Linked DNA regions of Homo sapiens: all the other regions are linked to region 7. The links are contacts of gene promoters, found by promoter capture Hi-C in blood cells and fetal thymus (Javierre and others, 2016). All regions are on one chromosome and are shown on one strand. Each heading gives the region's core, a stretch centred on a gene start or on the middle of the fragment in contact. The rest is flanking DNA. Distances are from core to core; before and after follow the strand shown.

What was found. Contacts are between HindIII fragments. The CHiCAGO score rates a contact against its expected background, and 5 or more counts as called.
Region 1: a fragment that was not itself captured here is called in contact with the fragment with the promoter of DUSP10 in region 7 in 13 of 17 cell types (naive CD4 T cells, naive CD8 T cells, megakaryocytes and 10 more); the score reaches 13.7 in naive CD4 T cells.
Region 2: a fragment that was not itself captured here is called in contact with the fragment with the promoter of DUSP10 in region 7 in 1 of 17 cell types (naive CD4 T cells); the score reaches 5.2 in naive CD4 T cells.
Region 3: a contact is called between a fragment that was not itself captured here and the fragment with the promoter of DUSP10 in region 7, in 4 of 17 cell types (total CD4 T cells, naive CD4 T cells, non-activated CD4 T cells and 1 more). The highest score is 8.2, in total CD4 T cells.
Region 4: a contact is called between a fragment that was not itself captured here and the fragment with the promoter of DUSP10 in region 7, in 1 of 17 cell types (neutrophils). The highest score is 6.9, in neutrophils.
Region 5: a contact is called between a fragment that was not itself captured here and the fragment with the promoter of DUSP10 in region 7, in 1 of 17 cell types (neutrophils). The highest score is 8.8, in neutrophils.
Region 6: a contact is called between a fragment that was not itself captured here and the fragment with the promoter of DUSP10 in region 7, in 1 of 17 cell types (naive CD4 T cells). The highest score is 5.1, in naive CD4 T cells.

Annotation. Positions count from the first base shown.
Region 1 is chr1:222,455,774-222,458,473 of GRCh38, forward strand. No RefSeq gene overlaps it. Among named protein-coding and RNA genes, the nearest start is that of TRT-TGT2-1, 7.9 kb to the right of the region's middle. The HindIII fragment of the contact is 5,503 bases long and covers 1-2,700 here.
Region 2 is chr1:222,645,169-222,647,868 of GRCh38, forward strand. MIA3 (MIA SH3 domain ER export factor 3) reads left to right here. Exons shown (of 28, transcript NM_198551.4): 7 at 386-517. Among named protein-coding and RNA genes, the nearest start is that of MIA3, 28 kb to the left of the region's middle. The HindIII fragment of the contact is 1,853 bases long and covers 337-2,189 here.
Region 3 is chr1:222,415,640-222,418,339 of GRCh38, forward strand. No RefSeq gene overlaps it. Among named protein-coding and RNA genes, the nearest start is that of TRT-TGT2-1, 48 kb to the right of the region's middle. The HindIII fragment of the contact is 917 bases long and covers 811-1,727 here.
Region 4 is chr1:220,888,731-220,891,430 of GRCh38, forward strand. No RefSeq gene overlaps it. Among named protein-coding and RNA genes, the nearest start is that of HLX-AS1, 9.9 kb to the left of the region's middle. The HindIII fragment of the contact is 1,675 bases long and covers 466-2,140 here.
Region 5 is chr1:220,790,102-220,792,801 of GRCh38, forward strand. It overlaps MTARC1 (mitochondrial amidoxime reducing component 1), which reads left to right. Exons shown (of 7, transcript NM_022746.4): 2 at 1,390-1,563. Among named protein-coding and RNA genes, the nearest start is that of MTARC1, 4.5 kb to the left of the region's middle. The HindIII fragment of the contact is 3,670 bases long and covers 1-2,700 here.
Region 6 is chr1:222,584,796-222,587,495 of GRCh38, forward strand. All of the region lies in intron 2 of TAF1A (TATA-box binding protein associated factor, RNA polymerase I subunit A), which reads right to left. Among named protein-coding and RNA genes, the nearest start is that of TAF1A-AS1, 3.8 kb to the right of the region's middle. The HindIII fragment of the contact is 566 bases long and covers 1,005-1,570 here.
Region 7 is chr1:221,740,789-221,743,488 of GRCh38, forward strand. DUSP10 (dual specificity phosphatase 10) reads right to left here and starts at 1,301. Exons shown (of 4, transcript NM_007207.6): 1 at 1,193-1,301. RefSeq lists silencers at 288-337, 2,058-2,537 and enhancers at 371-1,008, 1,009-1,646, 1,118-1,307, 1,638-1,837, 1,647-2,284. The HindIII fragment of the contact is 7,400 bases long and covers 1-2,700 here.

The DNA of each region.
Region 1 (2,700 bases), core at 168-2,667, 720 kb after region 7:
ACCACAGCAACTCATATGTAAAGAGTTGGAAAGTCCTTCCTCTGTGGTGATTGAGAGTAGACATGGAGCTGTTTGCAACCCCCTAAACACATTGCCCCCTTGCCACACAATAGCAAAAATTGAGAATTATCATCCTGTCACCACCCAGTGGCTCTGGGCCCTCAAGCTCCCAATTACTTACAGATATCTACAGCAGAGTCTCTTGACCTTCGCACCATCGGGTCAGATAGGTCTTTGTTGTTGGGAGGCTGCCTGCGCATTATGAGCATTTAGTAGTATCCTTGGCCTCTACCCACTGGTGTCACTGGCACCCCACCACTGTCCCCAAACCTCCACCCCTGTTATAACAATCAAAATACCTATAGACATTGCCAAATGTTTCCTGGGGGTACAAAATCACCTCTGCTTAAGAACCACCTATCTGGAAGGCAAATACATGGAATATAAGAAGAACAACAACAGTAATAATTACTAGTACTGCTATCATTTAAAAGGTAAAATTGCACCACCAGCTAATGGATAAGTCATCGGCTTCCTAAAAGGCACTAATTACGTGCTGAGACTTTTATGGCCTTATCTTATTTAGTCTTCACAACCAAGAAACCAGTCTGTGTTGACAAAACATTCACATTACAAGGAAACTGAAGATCAGAGATGCCAAGTAACTTGGCCAAGGGTGCAGAGCTGTCAGTGGCTGAACTACCATTTGAAACCAGACTTTCCTGACTGTAAAATCTGAGCCTGTCACCACCTCCAGATCCTGAGGTCACATAGCACAGATAGTTCTGGAACAGTCCTCACTCTCAAAAGTTCTGCCAGAGTATGCTAGCACTATTCAAATAATATATCTAGATTTAGATTTAAAGACATAAAGACTGTAGCTATCCTCTGTAAGAAATTGACCCAAAGTGTGACTGCTGTGGAGGTTTTCCAATAGGGGAATAGAGCGGGCCAGAGTCTTGGCCAGTAATTGACTGTATGGCCTTTATTTGGGGTCAGTTACTTAAGCTCTTGAAGTCTCTTCTTGTTCATATATAAGATAAAAAATTTTGTCAGAGCAATGGTACTCAACTCTGGCTGCACATTAAAATCACTTGGGTAGCTTTTTGCCATGGTTTGGATCTGTGTCCCCACCCAAATCTCATGTAATCCCCAATGTTGGAGGTGGGGCCTGGTGTGAGGTGGGATTGGATCATGGGGGCAGATTTCCCCCTTGGTACTGTCCTCAAGATACTGAGTTCTCATGAGATCTGGTTGTTTAAAAGTATGTGGCACCTCCCTTCTCTTTCTCTTTTGCTCCTGCTCCTACCGTGAAGACATATCTGCTCCCCATTTGCCTTCTGCCATAATTGTAAGTTTCCTGAGGTCTTCCCAGAAGCCAAGCAGATGCCAGCATTGTGCTTCCTGTACAGTCTGTGGAACCATGAGCCAATTAAACCTCTTTTCTTTATAAATTACCCAATCTTGGGTGTTTGTTTGTGGCAATATGAGAATAGCCTAATACAGAAAATTGGTACCAGGAGTAGGATATTGCTATAAAGATACCCAAAAATGTGAAAGCAACTTTGAAACTGGGAAATAGGCAGAGGTTGGAAGAATGTGGAGGGCTAGAAGACAGGAAGTTGAGGGAAGGTTTGGAACATCCTAGAGAGTTGTTTAATGGTTGTGATTAAAATGCTGACAGTGACGTGGACAGTGAAGTCCAGCCTGAAGATGTCTCAGATGGAAATGAGGAACTTATTGGGAATGAGTAAAGGTAACCTTTGCTATGCCTTATCAGACAGCTTAGCTGCATTATGCCCCTGCTCTAGAGATCTGTGGGACTTTGAACTTGAGAGTGGTAATTTAGGATATCTGGCAGAAGAAATTTCTAAGCAGTAAAGTGTTCAAGATGTGACCTGGCTGCTTCTAACAGCCTATGCTCATATGTATGAGCAAAGAAATGACCTGAAGTTGGAACTGATATTTAAATGGGAAACAGAGCATAAAAGTTTGGAAAATTTGCAGCTTGGCTGTGTGGTAGAAAAGAAAAGCCCGTTTTCAGGGAGGAATTTAAGCAGGCTGCAGAAATTTGCATAAATATAAAGGATCCAAGTGCTAATAGCCAAGGCAATGGAGAAAAGGCCTCAAAGGCATTTCAGAGACCTTTGCAGCAGCCCCTCCCATCATAGGCCCAGGGACCTAGGAGGAAAGAATGCTTTTATGGGTTAGGCCCGGGGACTCTGCTGCCCTATGCAGCCTCAGGACACTGCTCTCCACATCCCAGCCACTCCAACTTCAGGCATGGCTCAAAGGGATATAGTACAGGCCACTGCTTCAGAGGGTGCAAGTCATAAGCCTTGGCAATTTCCATGTGATATTAAGCCTGCAGGTGCACAGAGTGCAAGGATTGAGGCTTGGGAGCCTCCACCTAGATTTCAGAGGATATATAGAAAAGCCTGGATGTCCAGGCAGAAGCCTGCAGCAGGGGCAGAAGCCTCATGGAGAACCTCTACTAGGGCAGTATGAAGGAGAAATGTTGAGTTGGAGCCTCCACAAAGAGTCCCCACTGGGGTACTGCTTAGTGGAGCTGCACAAAGAGAGCCACCGTCCTCCAGACCCCAGAATGTTAGAGCCACCAACAGCTTGCACTATGTGCCTGGAAAAGCCACAGTCAATGCCACCCTGTGAGAGCAACCATGGAGGCTGAACCCTGCAAAG
Region 2 (2,700 bases), core at 13-2,512, 900 kb after region 7:
AGTTACTTGTATATAAAAGGTTTTTTGTCTTATGTGGTTTTTTAAGCAATAAAAACCAATTTATTCAAGACAAAAGTATGATGCAGAGAGATTCCAGCCATGTTTTAGATAACATATTGTATCAGGGCCTATTGAAACTAGAAATATATGCCCAACCTAAAGACATTTAGAGTCATAGTACTTCAAAACACCACAGGCCAAACAATAAGTATGAGACTCCCAGTATCCTGTTTTTCTTAAAGCAGTGAGAGCTACTGAAGATTTTTGAGGGGATAGGTATCTGATAGAGTTGGTTTAGAATTTCTGTGAATGAGTCTTTGTGACTGCTTTATGGTAAGCTTCTTTAAGGTTTCTCATTATTTCTAACATTATTTCTAACATTCAGCTAGTTGCTACATTGCCTGATGATGTTCAGCCTGGGCCTGATTTTTATGGACTGCCATGGAAACCTGTATTTATCACTGCCTTCTTGGGAATTGCTTCGTTTGCCATTTTCTTATGGAGAACTGTCCTTGTTGTGAGTAAATTAATGCATACTTTAACTCATAAATTCAAGTATGGTTTTATAATCACAGTCCTTTTGTTTCTTTTTCAGTTTCTAATATGAACAGAAATTAATGCTTTTAATTCAAGCTAACCTTGTAAAATAATTTAGTATAATTTTTGTGTTGGTAAATTCTTAAGTGAATAAGACAACATGTATAATCTCAGTGGGAAAACTTCAGTTTATATGTCTCATATCAAAGTCTAAATTTTAAGAATTAGGTGGGTCTGTATTTCAACTCACAAAGGATGAAAAGAAAGAATTAGATAGGTCATATGTACACTGTTAGTAGAACTAGGAATTCTTAGAGCCATCCTGAAAAATAGTTTCATGATGTGTATGATAAGCCTTAAAAATGGTTATATCCTTTTATATTGTATTAATGTCATGTCTAGTAATCGATCCTAAAGAAATAACCAGTCAGCCGGCACAGTGGCTCACACCTGTAATCCCAGCACTTTGAGAGTCCGAGGCAGGCGGATCACTTGAGGCCAGGAGTTCGAGACCAGCTTAGCCAACATGATGAAACCCCATCTCTTCTAAAAATACGAAAATTAGCCAGGTGTTGTGGCACATGCCTGTAATCCCAGCTACTCGGGATGCTGAGGCAGAGAATCGCTTGAACCTGGGAGGCGGAGGCTGCAGTGAGCTGAGATGTGCCACTGCACTCCAGCCTGGGTGACAGAGTGAGACTCCATCTCAAAAAAAAAAAAAAAGAAAGAAAGAAATAACCAATCATGCATTAAATATCTTACATGGCCGGGCGTGGTGGCTCACACCTGTAATACCAGCACTTTGGGAGGCGGAGGCGGGTGGATCACATAAGGCCAGGAGTTTGAGACCAGCCTGACCAACAAGACAAAACCCCATCTCTACTAAAAATACAAAACTTAGCCGGGGGTGGTGGCAGGAGCCTGTAATCCCAGCTACTTGGGAGGCTGAGGCAGGAGAATCGCTTGAACTGGGGAAGCAGATCATGCCACTGCACTCCAGCCTAGGCGACAAAGTGAGACTCTGTCTCAAAAAAAAGTTTTAAATATCTTACATGAGAGCATTCAGTAGAACAGTATTTATTAGAGTGAAAACTTTGACACAACCTACTGTGATTCACAGTGGGAAAATTGTTAAATTATTGTATGTTCATATAATGGGATATTAGGCTGCTTTATATAATTCAAAGACATAGGAGCACAACAAATACTCACAATTTAACATGAAGTAGAAAAAAAGTAGAAACCAAGACTTTAAGGTATAGATAAACTGTATATTACATAAACATACACACAGAAAATAAATGCTGCAAGGAAATACAATAAAATGATAAAAATTCTTATATCTAGGAGATGAGGTAAGTTTTCAGTTTTTAAAAAATGTGTATTTTCCAGATTTTCTGATTTCATCATGTACTATTTTACTCAGAAAATATCTTTTTATTTCGAAATGCAAATTATATCATGTGTAAAGACACACCGTTAATTTTTTTATCTTCTGTGCAGAATTTGCCTTTCAGACTTAAACATGTTTGTATAAGTGTGTATACTCATACTTGTACATCCTTATGATTATACTATATAGCATTCAGCTGCATAGTTATTTAACATAATTGGGAGAAGATTATTTGTGTAAATGAGCTTTGCAGATGAAAAGCTTTGTATTGAAACTTCACAGTTAAAATGGCCAAAATTATTGGATGCAAATCTTTCTAAAACTGAGTACTCTTTTTCTGATTTCATAATTATATCACATATATCATCATTAATAAATTTTCTCTCACAATTGATTGTAAAATTACTTAAAAAGAAGGGTCTTTTTTCCTGTGAGGCCTTCTCTAACCTCCTGGTGCTTTTCTTCAGATAAAAAGGGAGAATCAAAGGGTAAATGGAAGGGGAAAAGTTGAAAACATTTTACATTTCCCACTCTTGTTTCTCCTATTTGTTAATAAAAAAATTCTAACGCCTTTTTCGTTTTTCAGAAAGTTATATAGGCTCTGTGTCCTAACTGCTGTTCCTCAGCCTCAGCACTTGACTTTTGGAACCTTGGTCTCTGCTTGCCTGTTAGTTTGGGTGAAATGGAGCAGAGGAATTAGCAAGGCCATGACATTAGAGAGATAGTAATTTCTTTCCATGTTGGAATTTTCTGAATGCATATTCCTATAA
Region 3 (2,700 bases), core at 19-2,518, 670 kb after region 7:
GACAGATTGGGCGGTCTTGGAAGTGAAATTGTTATTCAGAAAGGATGTGTCCTTGGTGGTCCCTAGTCGAGGAAAGTCAGTGGGAAGAAAGAAAATGAGGAAAACCAATTACCGCAATTTGTACACCAAGAAAGACTGCATGTGATGCGTGAGCAGAATTCCTGAGTACAAATGAAAAAATGATGGCATTTAAGTGGTTTTGCCATCATTTTTGCTCATAATTTTTCACAAGCATCAAAGGGCATAGGATGAGAACAAGTGAGGGCAATAGGGTGCATGGTAACAGCCAGATATTTCCAGCCTCTGGTTTGGGTTACTCTGTCCTAGATAACAATGGTAGTGAAATGAGGCTTTTCAGATGATGGAAGAGAGAATATGAGATTTTGCTAATGATTGGTTAAACCAGGTGACTGCGTACTCTCTTTCCACCCTAACTGGGTATACTACAATATAATTCAATTCTGAGACTAATCACTCAGAGTTAGCATCAGACTCCACAGGTGTAAAGCCTCAGTCCTCCACAAGATTGCCCTTACTTCATACGGCAGCCACAAATTCTGGGAATCCCCAGGCCACCCACACTTCTGATGAGCTGGCCACAAATTCAAGGCTTCCCATGATCTTTTCACATTTGATAATTTGCTAGAATGACTCACAGAACTCAGGAAAGTGCTATGCTTATCATTACAGTTTTATTACAAAGGATTCAGATAGGGTAAGGTCTGGGGAAGAGTGCAGGAATTCCATGTCCTCTTCCTGTGGAATCAGAGCACATCACCCTTGGCCCATCAATGCATTCATCAACCAGGAAGCTTCATAGCATTAGTGGCCATAGTTTTCACTGGGGTTTGATTACAAAGGTATGATTGACTAAATCATTGGCCACATGATTGAACTCAATCTTCAGCCCCTTCTCTTCCTCAGAGTCAAGCTGTTCCAAAGCTCCAACCCCCTAACCACATGCTGGGTTTTTCTGGTGACTAGTCTCCACCTTGAAGCTATCTAGCACAGAAAGGATATGCCTATCACTCAGGAAATTCTGAAGGTTTCTGAATCTCTGTGCCAAGAACTAGGGACAAGAGACAAGGCCAGATAAAATTTTTATTATGTCATACTTAGTTTGTCCTCAATCTGAAATAAACAGTTTGGAAATGCCATTTACCTGACCTTCACAACATCTTCTACCTTACTAAAAGACAAAGTGGTTGCCATCTGTAGTCATGAAGGGGAAAGAGACAGGCAGAATCATTGAGCCTGAGTCCTGTCATCACCTATCACTTTAGGCTCAAGTGAAGGCAGACCTGGAAATAAAGCCCTGAGTTTATTCTGTGTATAGACATGTGGTTCTGGCAGAGTTCAAATATAGTCATTCCTCTTTATTCATAACTCTAAAAATAATAGCTAACATGGATTGAGCATTTAACATGTGCTAGGCATTATTCTAAGACCTTATATGTATTTAGTCTTCAAGCCCTTCAACAATTCTATGAGATATTAACCCATCCCTCTTGATGGACATGTAGATTGTTTCCAATTTTATTCTTAATAAAACAATATTACAATGAAAGATGAGGGTAAACCCAAAGGTTTGGGTGCCATGAACCAACACTCTGTTTACTCCTCATCTCTCACCTAAGGCATGGTAGAATCGCAGTTACCTTTATGATATTGGTCATGAGATAGCATTAAAGACTGTACTCTGGCGTTGATAATGATGCTATGTGAGAAGCTTCTTGAGTCTTGTGTTACTGCCCAGTGCAGGGGCTCAGACCCCAACTGGGGAGCTGTTCCTCCCGCCCAAAAACAAAAGTGAAAGATAAACTTTCCCATACTGTAGTGAAACAGAGAACACAGAAATGAAACACCCACGCAGTTGGCCAAAACACAGAATACTTAAATTGGGATAAAGTCCAAGACTTAACCTGGGCCTTACATAAGAGGAGGAGCATCATGCAGGGATAAGGATAAGTGTTCCAGAGTCAGAAGCTATATGCAACTCTGTGTTTTACCAGTTATAGGACCTGAGCAAGAGCCTCCATTTCCTGATGTGTAAAAGGCAGGCACATATAATAGTTTGGGACACACAAAGGAAGAATCCATTTGAAAATACTTCATAAAATATTATAAAATATCAACTAATGATATCTCCCAAATATTCCCTCTCACATGCCCAAGCAGCCAGAGATGTTTGTTATCATCTTGTCTATCCAATAGTTCCTTCAAGTGCGTCACATCTGCAATATGGTTCATCCATCCTGTTATAGAGGATGAAGTCTAGGCAAAATTATCCTAATTTTACAGGTGGGGAAAGCAAGGTGAAGTAGAGAAATGTGCAAAGGATAGGTAAAGATAGTTATAGTTGAAGACACTTGGCAAGGAGAACCAGAATACTGCTGACTGCCAACTCAGGGCTCTTTCCAGCCATTTACATTATTGTTTTTAAGGTGGTGTGGGCAGCAGCGAGCAATATAATGCCATGTTCTATCATCTTTGGTCTGGAGTAAAAGATGTAGCAATATGTATCATCATCATTATTATCATGTAACTGTTATTTGTAAATCCATTTTCTCTTTTGCCCATAGTGGCTTAATTTCCCTGAAAATACTGTTTTCATTCTATAATTATTAGCTGCATACACAAAGTTCATGGAATATAGAGCCACGATAAAGATTCATAGTAAATGATGGTCCTGTTTTCTTG
Region 4 (2,700 bases), core at 53-2,552, 850 kb before region 7:
AGCCCACGCCTACCTGAGACTCTCAGTGGGCTGGATGGAGCACGAAACGGGGGAAGAGAAGTCAGAGGCTGAGGTTGATGCAGTCTCCCATCGTTTTCAGGCATCCTAGTCCCCTCTCCGGCTTCTTCCTCCCTTAAGAAGAAAAAGTAGGCAAGCTCAGCCCTCCCCCACGTGATGTAGTGACACCGCTTTAAAGATGACCAAGAGGACCCTAAACATGCTGGGACATCACATTCTCCTTCTTTAGCCTTGTGAGTTGGAAAGGACTGATTGCACACTCCAATGTATTTGTGAAGATGCGAGTTTTAAGGAGGATTTTAACTACAGGTATTTGGGCTAGGGAAGATTTTTTAAAATCCGAAATTTTGATTTAACTCATGCACTCATCTAGCTCACAGCCTCCATTTTTGAGGTCATGATGAGATTGGCTGGCGTCCCAAAGACAAACTAGTTGGCTTTCTCTGAAGCTTCCCTTCACACACTGGGATATTACAACCCACAGTGCCTACCCTCTGCCAGCCACTCTTGGGGAATCCAGACTGCTTACACAGGGTGGGGAGCACTTTCTAAGATTCCCTTCAACTCAGGTTCTAACAGAGCAGCAGCCTCCACGAGGATCCCTGGGCCCTGAGGACAGGTGAGCTTAGAGAACCCCTGGCCCTTTAATCCCTTCCCTGTCTCTGCCCCCTGTCATTTTAGAAATCAGGAATAGAAGTCTCCACAGTTATGATTGTTCCCAACTTCCTCGTTTTTGGGTTGAAGTAACAGAGGCTGAGAGATGTGAGAATACTTGCCCAAGGTGCCCTGGAGAGTGAGTGCAAGGACCAGGATGGGCCTTGTGTCAGGGCCTCCTGCAGTACACAGGAACATGAAAGCTGGTGCCAGACACTCCTGAGCAACCAGATTCTGATCCAAATTATCAAAGCTCAATAGGTTTTCAAAAAGAGCATGAGGTTCAACCACTGCCTGGGATGTTGGGCTCCCATTAGCTCCTTCTCTTTCCCCTTGGTGGTTCCTGAGGGGTCTGGGAGTCGCAGGTCTGGGACTCCATTGGGTTGATACCCTGCTCTCCACCCTGCACTGACCTAATAGCAATGTTAGCTTTGCTAATAGTGTGTAGGATCCCAGCCACACTGTGCTCACGAAAGGAAGCGACATCCATGGTGCTTTTTGACTTCCATTGATCATTGCTGACACTTAGGATTCTGGGCAGAATGTGGAGATCGAGGCCCAATCATGCCTGCGTGGCAGCCCCTGCGCTGGATCCTTGTTTCTTCCTCTAGCCTCAGATTCAGCTGAAGCCATGGCAGATAGTAAGCCTCACCTCTAGCACAGTCCACCCTGCGCAACACACGAGGAACCAGAAAGAGACCTTGGAAGTGGCAGCGGCAGCATCGCCTGACATGCGCTCCGAACTTGCCTCTCTGGAGACCCTCAACGACTCTCTGGGTTGGGGGGGTTATTCGAGGAGACCGGCAGGAGGAGTGTGCAGGAAAAAGCGGGCCTGATCCCAGCCCAGCATAGGAGGTCTGAACTAACCCCAGAGGCATTCATTCATTCATTCCCTCACCCACCAATAACTAGCTACATGACCTTGGAAAATTCATCTAATCACTTGGTTTGTTTTCTCGGTGAAATGGGATATAATCAAAGGTATGTAACTCATAAATTGGTGTAAGACTTCATGACAGTTAAAAAAAAAAAGCCAAAATGAGAACAGTGGCTGGTATACAATTAATGCTATAGGCTTCGATGTTACTGCATTCCTTCATCCATTCATTTTTTTCATTGCAGTATTTATGGGGATCCTTGTGAGTGTTTGCACCATAGAGAAAAAAAGAATGCAAGACAACCTTTACTCTCCAAGAAATTATATCATTAGATGAAAATGAGGATGCCTTGTCACCAGGAAATCCTTTAAGGAGTAGCCCAGAGAGTTAGGATGTGCTGCCTGGCTAGGTCAGGGGTTGCTGCATTTGGAAGGCCTTCTTCATCTTGATGCTCCTGGCACTATGCACAGGAGCACCTCAGTCTGCAAATTTCACAGCAGGCAGGCCATACAATGCTTGTGGGTGTGGTGGGGACTTACTCATGGGAGTTAGAAAGGAAGAAGTTAGTTTTCTGATACTTAGTTTTCTGAAGCTTAAGCAAGTGTCCAGGGGCACAGAAGGGAAAATTATGTTCCAGCTGTTGAGATTATGTTGGGACAAATAGCACTTGGGGAGTTTTATTAAGTTTTTAACTAATCACAATGAGGGAGGGCCCTCGAAACGGAAACAGGAGATTAACGATTCCTTCGAGGAAAAAGGCACCCTCGGCTTCTTGAGAGCAGGGCTGGACTCTGCTGCATGGTTGGAGAAGCTCTAGCACCTAGCTCAGTGCTTGGCACAGGAAATGCACCCCCAAAAGTGTTTACTGAATGAACGACAAGTATAATTATTGTGGCCCTTGTGGTTATTTATAGCATCGCAGGGTAGGTAGCATTATAAACACAGTAGGAGGCTGTGCAACACGACCCAGAAGTACCAGGTAGTAACCCCGGGAGTGGACCTGGAGCTGCGAATCATCTGGTCGAGGACCCATTAGGATCCCCGATGCTAAGGTCATCACAGAGAGGCAAGAGAACGCGTTCACAAGCAGGACTCGATGCAGGCGGCCGAAACTCTGGTCTGCGTACCATTTGGGCATCGTTGTAGGTGG
Region 5 (2,700 bases), core at 23-2,522, 950 kb before region 7:
TACTTTTTCAGCATTTTGATTAAAGCTGCAATAAACATTGATACACAAATGTCTGTTTGAGTTCCTGTTTTCAGTTCTTTGGGGTCTATACGTAGGAGTGTGCTAGGTATTTTATGTTTTATATATATTTTACTGCAATTAAAAAATAAATATATAAAAGACTGGCCTGTGTGAAGACCTCGGGAGGTAAGAATGGCTGGAGCAACAGCTGGATCATGAAGGGCTGGGCACGCCCTTGTTTAGGAGTTGGTTTTATCCTGAAAGCAGGAACCATGGAGGGATTTTGAATGAGGGGGTCATAAAGTTAGATTTGCATTTTAGAGCGATGTAAACTGCCATTACCAGGAAGAATATTAGACAGAATATTCACCTGCTAGTCCCAAGGATTTGGGTCAGGGCAGGCCTCTGTCTGTGCAGAAACAAAGTCTGGTAAAAGGGCAGTTACGGAAAGGGCTTATACTAAGCATATTTTTCTAGTGTAGCTGAACAACTCAACCATGATAACCTGCTGGAAGTGATGCAAGAAATATCTTGAACGACCTAAAGTACCGGCCATATTTTTTTCTTATGTCTGGAAATCTCAAAAGCACATGCTCACTTCTATAATTGTAATCATTTGATCAGTGTGTACTGTAAGGATTGAAATGCCAATATGTTTTGCTTCCTTGGTAGCTGAGAGATAACCTGCAAAAACATGTTGTTCTTGTTCTGGAAATGGCTCTTTCTATTACCTTTATTTCTCCATTTATCTTTTTTTCTAGGAAGTACCTGTAGACCAGGAATACTGGGCCAGAAGAAAAAAATACTGTCTAGTTTAGCAAATTGCAGAATGGACAGCACTGAATGTTGGAACATAAAATTTTTAAAAGGTGGGGGGCTGGAACTGGCAGAGTATAAGTGGCACTGTGTGTTGCTCAGCTGAACTCCATGCCCTGTGAACAATATAAGCAACAGTCCTGCTATTTCCACTGACAAGAGCCCGTTGCCTACCAGATGCCAGGCCCTGTGCTTCCTCCTGCCTTTGAGGTCTTCATGTAAAATAGATTCTTGTCATCTGCTTGGGGCATGTTTAATGAAAGTGATCAGGCTTTCTAGAGATTGAGATGAAAATATAATTAACATCTTTGATTTCTGTGCCATCAAAGAGCTCAAACTGTTCTCCAGATATATGTTGGATGCTTGAGTGGTTATGAAATCCTTTGAAATTAAGTGACAGACTCAGTCCTGTGTGCTGATGTTTAGGACAGACAGACACACACACTCAAACTCACACACACCAGGCTTATGGGGAAGAAATCAAAGATGACAACAGTGTCTAATTGAAGCTCCTCCAGGGTCTGGCTTCCTGCCATAATGGTTCACACATATCCTGTGTTTTGAAAACGGCAGGTTTTGGCTTGTGATCAACCAGGAGGGAAACATGGTTACTGCTCGCCAGGAACCTCGCCTGGTCCTGATTTCCCTGACCTGCGATGGTGACACCCTGACTCTCAGTGCAGCCTACACAAAGGACCTACTACTGCCTATCAAAACGCCCACCACAAATGCAGTGCACAAGTGCAGGTAAGGAAAGGGCAGGTCGTAGCCCTTGTGTGAATGAATAGTCATGCAATTTTGAGAAAGCATAAACTCTAGAGGGAATGCTGAGAAACATATCAATAATGAACCGTTGATTGCATGTGTACCATATACAGAATGAAGTCCTCAACATTATGAAGATCTAAAAGAAGGAGAAAGAAGGAAGCAGCTTCAGAAACTTGTGTTGTGGAGATGACAGACATGAAAGTGCTATGTAGAAACCCATGAGAACAAAAGCATATTGACATGTCAGCAAGAGAAAAATAACAGCACCCAAAGATCAAGCACAAAAATGGGGTGGGAGTGGTGGGGGCGAGTGTCCTAGCAGAGGTGAAACTCGATCTACGTATTCTCATAGAACTTTTTCTTCTTGGCTTAGAAAAACTGGGCACCTTCCAAGTCTGAGTTAGGAAAGGAGTTGCAAATGGCTATGTGACCCGTAAGATTTAGTTCTAATGAAAGGAAGTTCCAAAATAGAAAAGAACAACTCTAGCTAGAAGAGTGATCCAGCCAGCGGCTGCCCAGGGGTCAGTGTCAGAATGAGGCTGGGGATGTAACCCAGGAGGATGTTCTGTACACAAGCCCTTCCCTCAACATCAGAAGGGCTGCAATGAAGCAATTCTTCTAGGAAAACTAGTTTTGCCTCCAAGAAGTCATGTCTAGAGTTGATTTCTTATCTGATTATGGGAAAATTAGAGTTGGTCCAGTTATATTCTTGTTATAGTTTCTGCATTTGGAATAAAGATGCAGTGTGAATGTAGTTTATAGCCTATCATAAAAAAATAGCATCACCTCAAAAAATGTAGTTATCTGAACAACGTCTAAAGACCCAGAAAAGTTCACAAAATGCAATACTGATGTAATTTCTACATTTTAGAGTTTTAAACTTGATAATATACTTTTTTGAATTTGGTGGCTTTTCAGATTAGAAAAGTGGTACATATTCATTGTTGAAAATTTGGGAAATACCAAGAAAAAAAAAAAAAAGAAACAAAAACTATCTGTGATAACTAATTAATATTGCAGCATATTTTCTTTCGGTCTCTATGCCTACTACTTAAAAACTAAACTGAAATAATACAAAAAATCCTTTAATATTGTTTATATACTTAAATTGATATG
Region 6 (2,700 bases), core at 38-2,537, 840 kb after region 7:
ATCTCTAAAGTATTGGCAATCCCAATGTTAAGAACATTTGGGCTTAGATACAGTGCTATTATATGAATGACTAGTTACATTGCTACATCTTCTTATCTTCCCACGTAACTATGAGACCCCTCTAGTCCAGCTGGGTAATTGTACCCCAGTAAGTACACAAAGACCAACAGGTACTTTACAAAGATACTTTTAAAACAATTAACTTGCAGATATTTGATTTCCTTACATACTCTTTCCACAAGTTAATCTCCTAGACAGCTGTGCCTACATAGTCAAAGCTTCACAATCAAAATCATTACACACTATCTGAAGGTGAAAACACAGGTGTTGAAAAAGTAAATAACTCTAACATCTCCTTTTGCAAGTTAGGCAATTCCCAATTCTTTGCTCATCAAAACTGCAGAACAACGTAATTTTTTACAATAAATCATTATGCAATTTTTCATCAATAATTTAGAAAAAATTCACAGACCTGATACACGGCTATAATTAAACTCCATTCACTGCCATCTACTTACTTATGTGACTAAGGTTTCTCAGAATTTATGTCAATTAAAAAAAATAGCAGAATCAATGCTAAATGTTTTCTCATTCTAGAAATACATAAAAGTCACCCACAAATACATAAAAAATTGGGGAAAAGTTTTAGATAACTTTATTAAAAAAAAAAAAAAAAGAGTCTTGCTCTGTCACCCAGGCTGGACCGCACTAGCACAATCACAGCTCACCATAGCCTAGACCTCCTGGGTTCAAGTGATCCTTCCTTTTGGCCTCCCAAAGTGCTGGGATTATGAGCATGAGCCACCACACCTGGCCAACAACACGTTTAATACACGTTATATTGATCAGCTGTGTACAACTATTAATGATAGCAATGTCTCAACCTAGAAAAAGTTTTAATTCTTAAAACTTACAGGATATAAACAAAAAAAGTATAAATATTGATACATACTTTTATTGCAAGAAGTACAACAAAGAGGAACATAAAATGTCCATCTATTAAAAGCTTGTTCATAATTTTTTTTAAAATGAATAACGCAAGGTATTAAAACCCTATGCCATTCCTGTGCTATTTGGACTCCATCACATATAAAGTAATATATAGTCATTTAAAAATACCAACATGCTGGAAATTTTATCTCTTGCAAATATTAAACATACAATAAAATTTTTTCAGATGATTCCTTAAAACTATGCAAGGTAGTACTCAATTTTTCAGAAAAAACTAGGGGATACAAAAGTGAAAAGTTTGAAGACTACTGTGCTAGACTAGTGTTCTCAGACTTTTGAATGTACATACAAATCACCTGGGGACCTGCCCTTGCTACTCAATGTGGTCCTGGCATGCAGCAGAAGTATCACCTGGAATCTCATTACAACTACAGAGTACTATGCCCAGCTCTCTCAATCAGAAGCTGCATTTTATAAGATCTACACCAAAGCTGCTCGGCATCAGTGGCAATACCTGCCAGCTAGCCTAGGAAACTGACAAAACACCTCGTCCTTAAAACATCCCTTATTTACCTAAAGGAGAGAACTGTTCTCAGGCTAAGCTCCCTTCTATCGCTCAAGCTTTCACAACTGAGATTATAAATTGACTTTAGATAACTATACCTAAATGTTTGGAAAATACTTTTGTCTTCCAACCTAGCCTAGCTACCTCAGGAAAAGTTCTCCTCTCATTTCATTCTTTAATGAGCAAAAGATAGTCTTACTTGATCCTGATGACTTTAAGAAAAAAAAATTGTCAAGGAAAACACATTTTTACATGGAATAGAGATGTACAATAAAGAACTAGTGTCATCAACCTAACTTCTAATATGCTACTCAAAGAATCTGGAAACTTATCAATCTGTCAACAAGTATTTTTTGGGCACCACTGTGTCCCAAGCACTATCGCAGGTACTCATCATACAGCTTCAATCCAGACTGGCCCTGTCTTCAAAGTTTTTATTCTAAGGGGGTTGCTGGGCATGCCCTTCAAAAAGCCAAAAGATATCTACCAGCATAAAAAATAAATAGAACAATTGTTAGGCAATTTTGTTTTCCTATTATGGTTAATTACCAGCACAATGTCAATATTAATTGCAAGTATTTTCTCATTGCAGACCAAAAGTATTTTCGGTTTAACAGGCTATCCATGACATATAAAATATTCCTAAGCATGTAAATTTTGGTCTTTGGTCTTAAACCTATCTGCTTGCAGACTGACTCAGACTTTCTATAGAACACTGGTAACAGAAACATACCCAAGTATGACTTAACTATAGGAAATTTAAATTACTAGTTTGTTCCCTACCAGGGATGCGGTAGCACTACCTCTGAAGTATCATTCATTCAAATCTGCCTTAAGCCATGTGCATTAATCTAGCAAAAATAAAATGAGGAGAGGAAAGGCACTATTATTTTTCAACACTCATTATGCATGAGATACTATGCTAGGTACTTTACATATATTGTCTCATTTTTAAAAATGCATCTCAGTCGTTAAAAGTGTAAGCTTTGAGATCAGACAAACCTGGATTTGACTCCTGATACCACTTAAGAGTTTAATGTCTTTGAGATTCAGTTTCATCCTACCTAAACTGCCTAGCATAAAAATTTATTGAGAATTTACTGAGATCATTAAATGGGATGATACTTAGATCAAAAGAAAAAAATGGAAGCGAAATTTTAGGAGCCAAGGAATCTCTGTCAAGG
Region 7 (2,700 bases), core at 51-2,550:
GGACAGTGAATTGTTGCCCACCGGATCTATCTCTGATTTCAGAGTGTCTGCAAAAAGACAGCTCCTTCCTCCTGTAGGCACAGGGGCACTCTACAACTCAGGCTTGCTAACTCTTCTTCTTCTATTAGACATGCACATAGCAAAGACGCCAAACCCCACGCCAAGAGACGCTCACCTAAACGAACTTTAAGAGCTATCAGGAAAAATGCCATCTATCATCCGTCTACACACGACCGTCACCATTCTCATCCGTCTACACACGACCGTCACCATTCTCTGACACAGAACCAAAGTGTCACAGGCGGAATCCACACTCACGCGCGCACACGGGGCACGCACCCATCACGTCGGCAGATCTCCAACGACTCGGGTTTCTCTCACCCACCTTTGGATGGGAGCGAAGGAGTCAACCCCCCTTCCCTTGCGTAGTATTTTTTCTGAAGAGCGAGTTCTATTCCAGAAGCTATAACTGTTTCCCGGTTGGACCAAGCGGTGAAAGTCTTTGCTATTGTGTTACCTGGTAGGACACGTCCAGGATCAACATACCATTTCTTCTGAGAGGGACGCATAAGCGTGTTCACAGAGACACGCGCTGGGACCCCCACCTCCACACAGAGTTCAAGGCTCACACACACACACACGGAGTGTATAGAGAGACCTGCATCCCTGCAGCAGAGGGTCGGGCGTACATACTGCCCGTGAAACCATCCAGTCTGGCCCAGAAAATCTCCCAGAGAAATACTGAGCTATCCCCTCTCCCTTCCACCACTAGGCAAGAGCTGGAGAGAAAATTAAGTGGTTAGAGAATGCTTCTTCCCCATTCCTGGAGCACTTAACATCCCCCCGCCCCCCGCTTCACTCCTCGGCACACAGCGCACTAATGAGCCCCGAGCATTTAAAACTGCCGCAAAGCATCCCAACAAACCTCATTTTTTCTTCGCCCCAAATCCAAGTAGACTGCAGGGAGTAAACGCACAGGGTAGCAGGAGCCAACGGCCGGAACCTTATAACCCTACCTGCTGTAGCTCCTCCGTCAGCATCGCATCTCTATCTTTCTGTCTCTGTCTCTCTCTCACACACACACAGATACACACACACAAACACACACACTCACACTCACACAAGCACCGCCTTACAATCCTCCACCTCCAGTCCCGGGCTCTCAGGAGTAGTCGCGGTGACTTCCACTTACTTCATAAATAAGTGTATTCCTCCACCATCTGGCGCTCCTCTTCAGCTATGGACTCGCACATTCAGCCCCCATTCACTCGGCTTCATTGATCTCCAGCAGCAACATAGTTACTTTCTCTTTTGCTACACTGTAAATGTAAGGTTCTGAGGGGGCGGACTCGCCGCCGACCGACGGCGGGTTGGGCCAATAAGAATCCGGAGAAAGCCGACCGCTACCTCACAGAGCCCCGCGACCAATGGGCAGCCTAGGGGGCGGGTAAGAAGGCGTGGCCTCATCTCTTTAAGGAGGGTTTATCCGAAGCTGCTCTGGGTCCTCGGTGTTAAAACACGGGCGGTGATGTCATTGGCAACCAATCAAAAACTTAAAAGAGCCAGCCGGGGCCGCGCGGAGCAGCTGCTCTCTATTTACATGTAAACCGAACCGGCAGGATGCAGTTAACCCTTTACCAGGCTGAAGTGTCAGCGGGCTGGACGCGCTGCTCCGCTAAAACTGGCTCTTCCCACTGGACGGGATCCTCCAACACTCCCTCACCCGGGGACAAACCACGCTATTTTTCCTCCTTACTATGGACAGATGATCAAAAGTATCGGAGTAACTTTCTAAAGGAAAGAGACTGCGATCACCGTCCCTAGTGGGAAAGCCGGGTTCTCTCCGAGTCGCTCGAGGTGACTTGACAAACGCTAAGCCAAAATTCGCGGACCTCGCCGGGTCTTCTGCGCTAGGACCAGCATGAGCGCGCAGCCAGGGGCGACGCTTCCGCTCCGAGCCGCGGCCCGGGGCCACGCGCTAAGGGCCCGAACTTGGCAGCTGACCGTCCCGGACAGGGAGGCCCTTCAGCCTCGACGCGGCCTGCGTCCTCCGGAGGGCCCTGCTCCGCCCGGGAAGCGTCCGCCTCCCGCCCGCCCGCCCGCAGATGTCGCTGCCCCTCTGGCTGTCCCGGCCTGACCGCCGCGCGCCGCCCTGCTGCTCACCTACTTCCGCGCCACGGTCACGCCCCTGCCGTCCCCAGGCTAACCCTCCCGGGGCTCGACCCAGAGCACTAAGGCGGCGCCACTGAGGGCTGCTCGGAGGAGGAGGCTTGAGTCGACGCCAGAGGCGGCAAGGGACGCGCCCTGAGCAGCGGTGCAGAGGCCAATCCCCTGGCCGGGCGTCCTGGGGCCCGCTACGCGCCCGCTGCCCCTCCGGGTCTGGGTCCCCGCCCGCCGCCGCCCCCCTTTCCCGCCTGGCGCGCTGGGTCCCCGCGCCGTGCCAGCAGCGCGCAACCCACCCGCCCCACATGCCTCGGCCGCCACCCCTCGGTCCCGCACGGCCCCTGCCGAGGCCAGGACCGGCAGCCCGGCGCTTCTGGAACAGCCGCAGCTGGCGGAAAAGAGCCAGAGCCGAGTGCAAATAGCTAGATTGAATGGGGCCGGAGGAGCGTGGAGGAGGTGACGCCGCCTCTCCCCGCTCCCCTGACTTTGGCCGGCGCCAGGTAGCTGGCCGCAGCTCCTGATCAGGGAGAAGAGTAG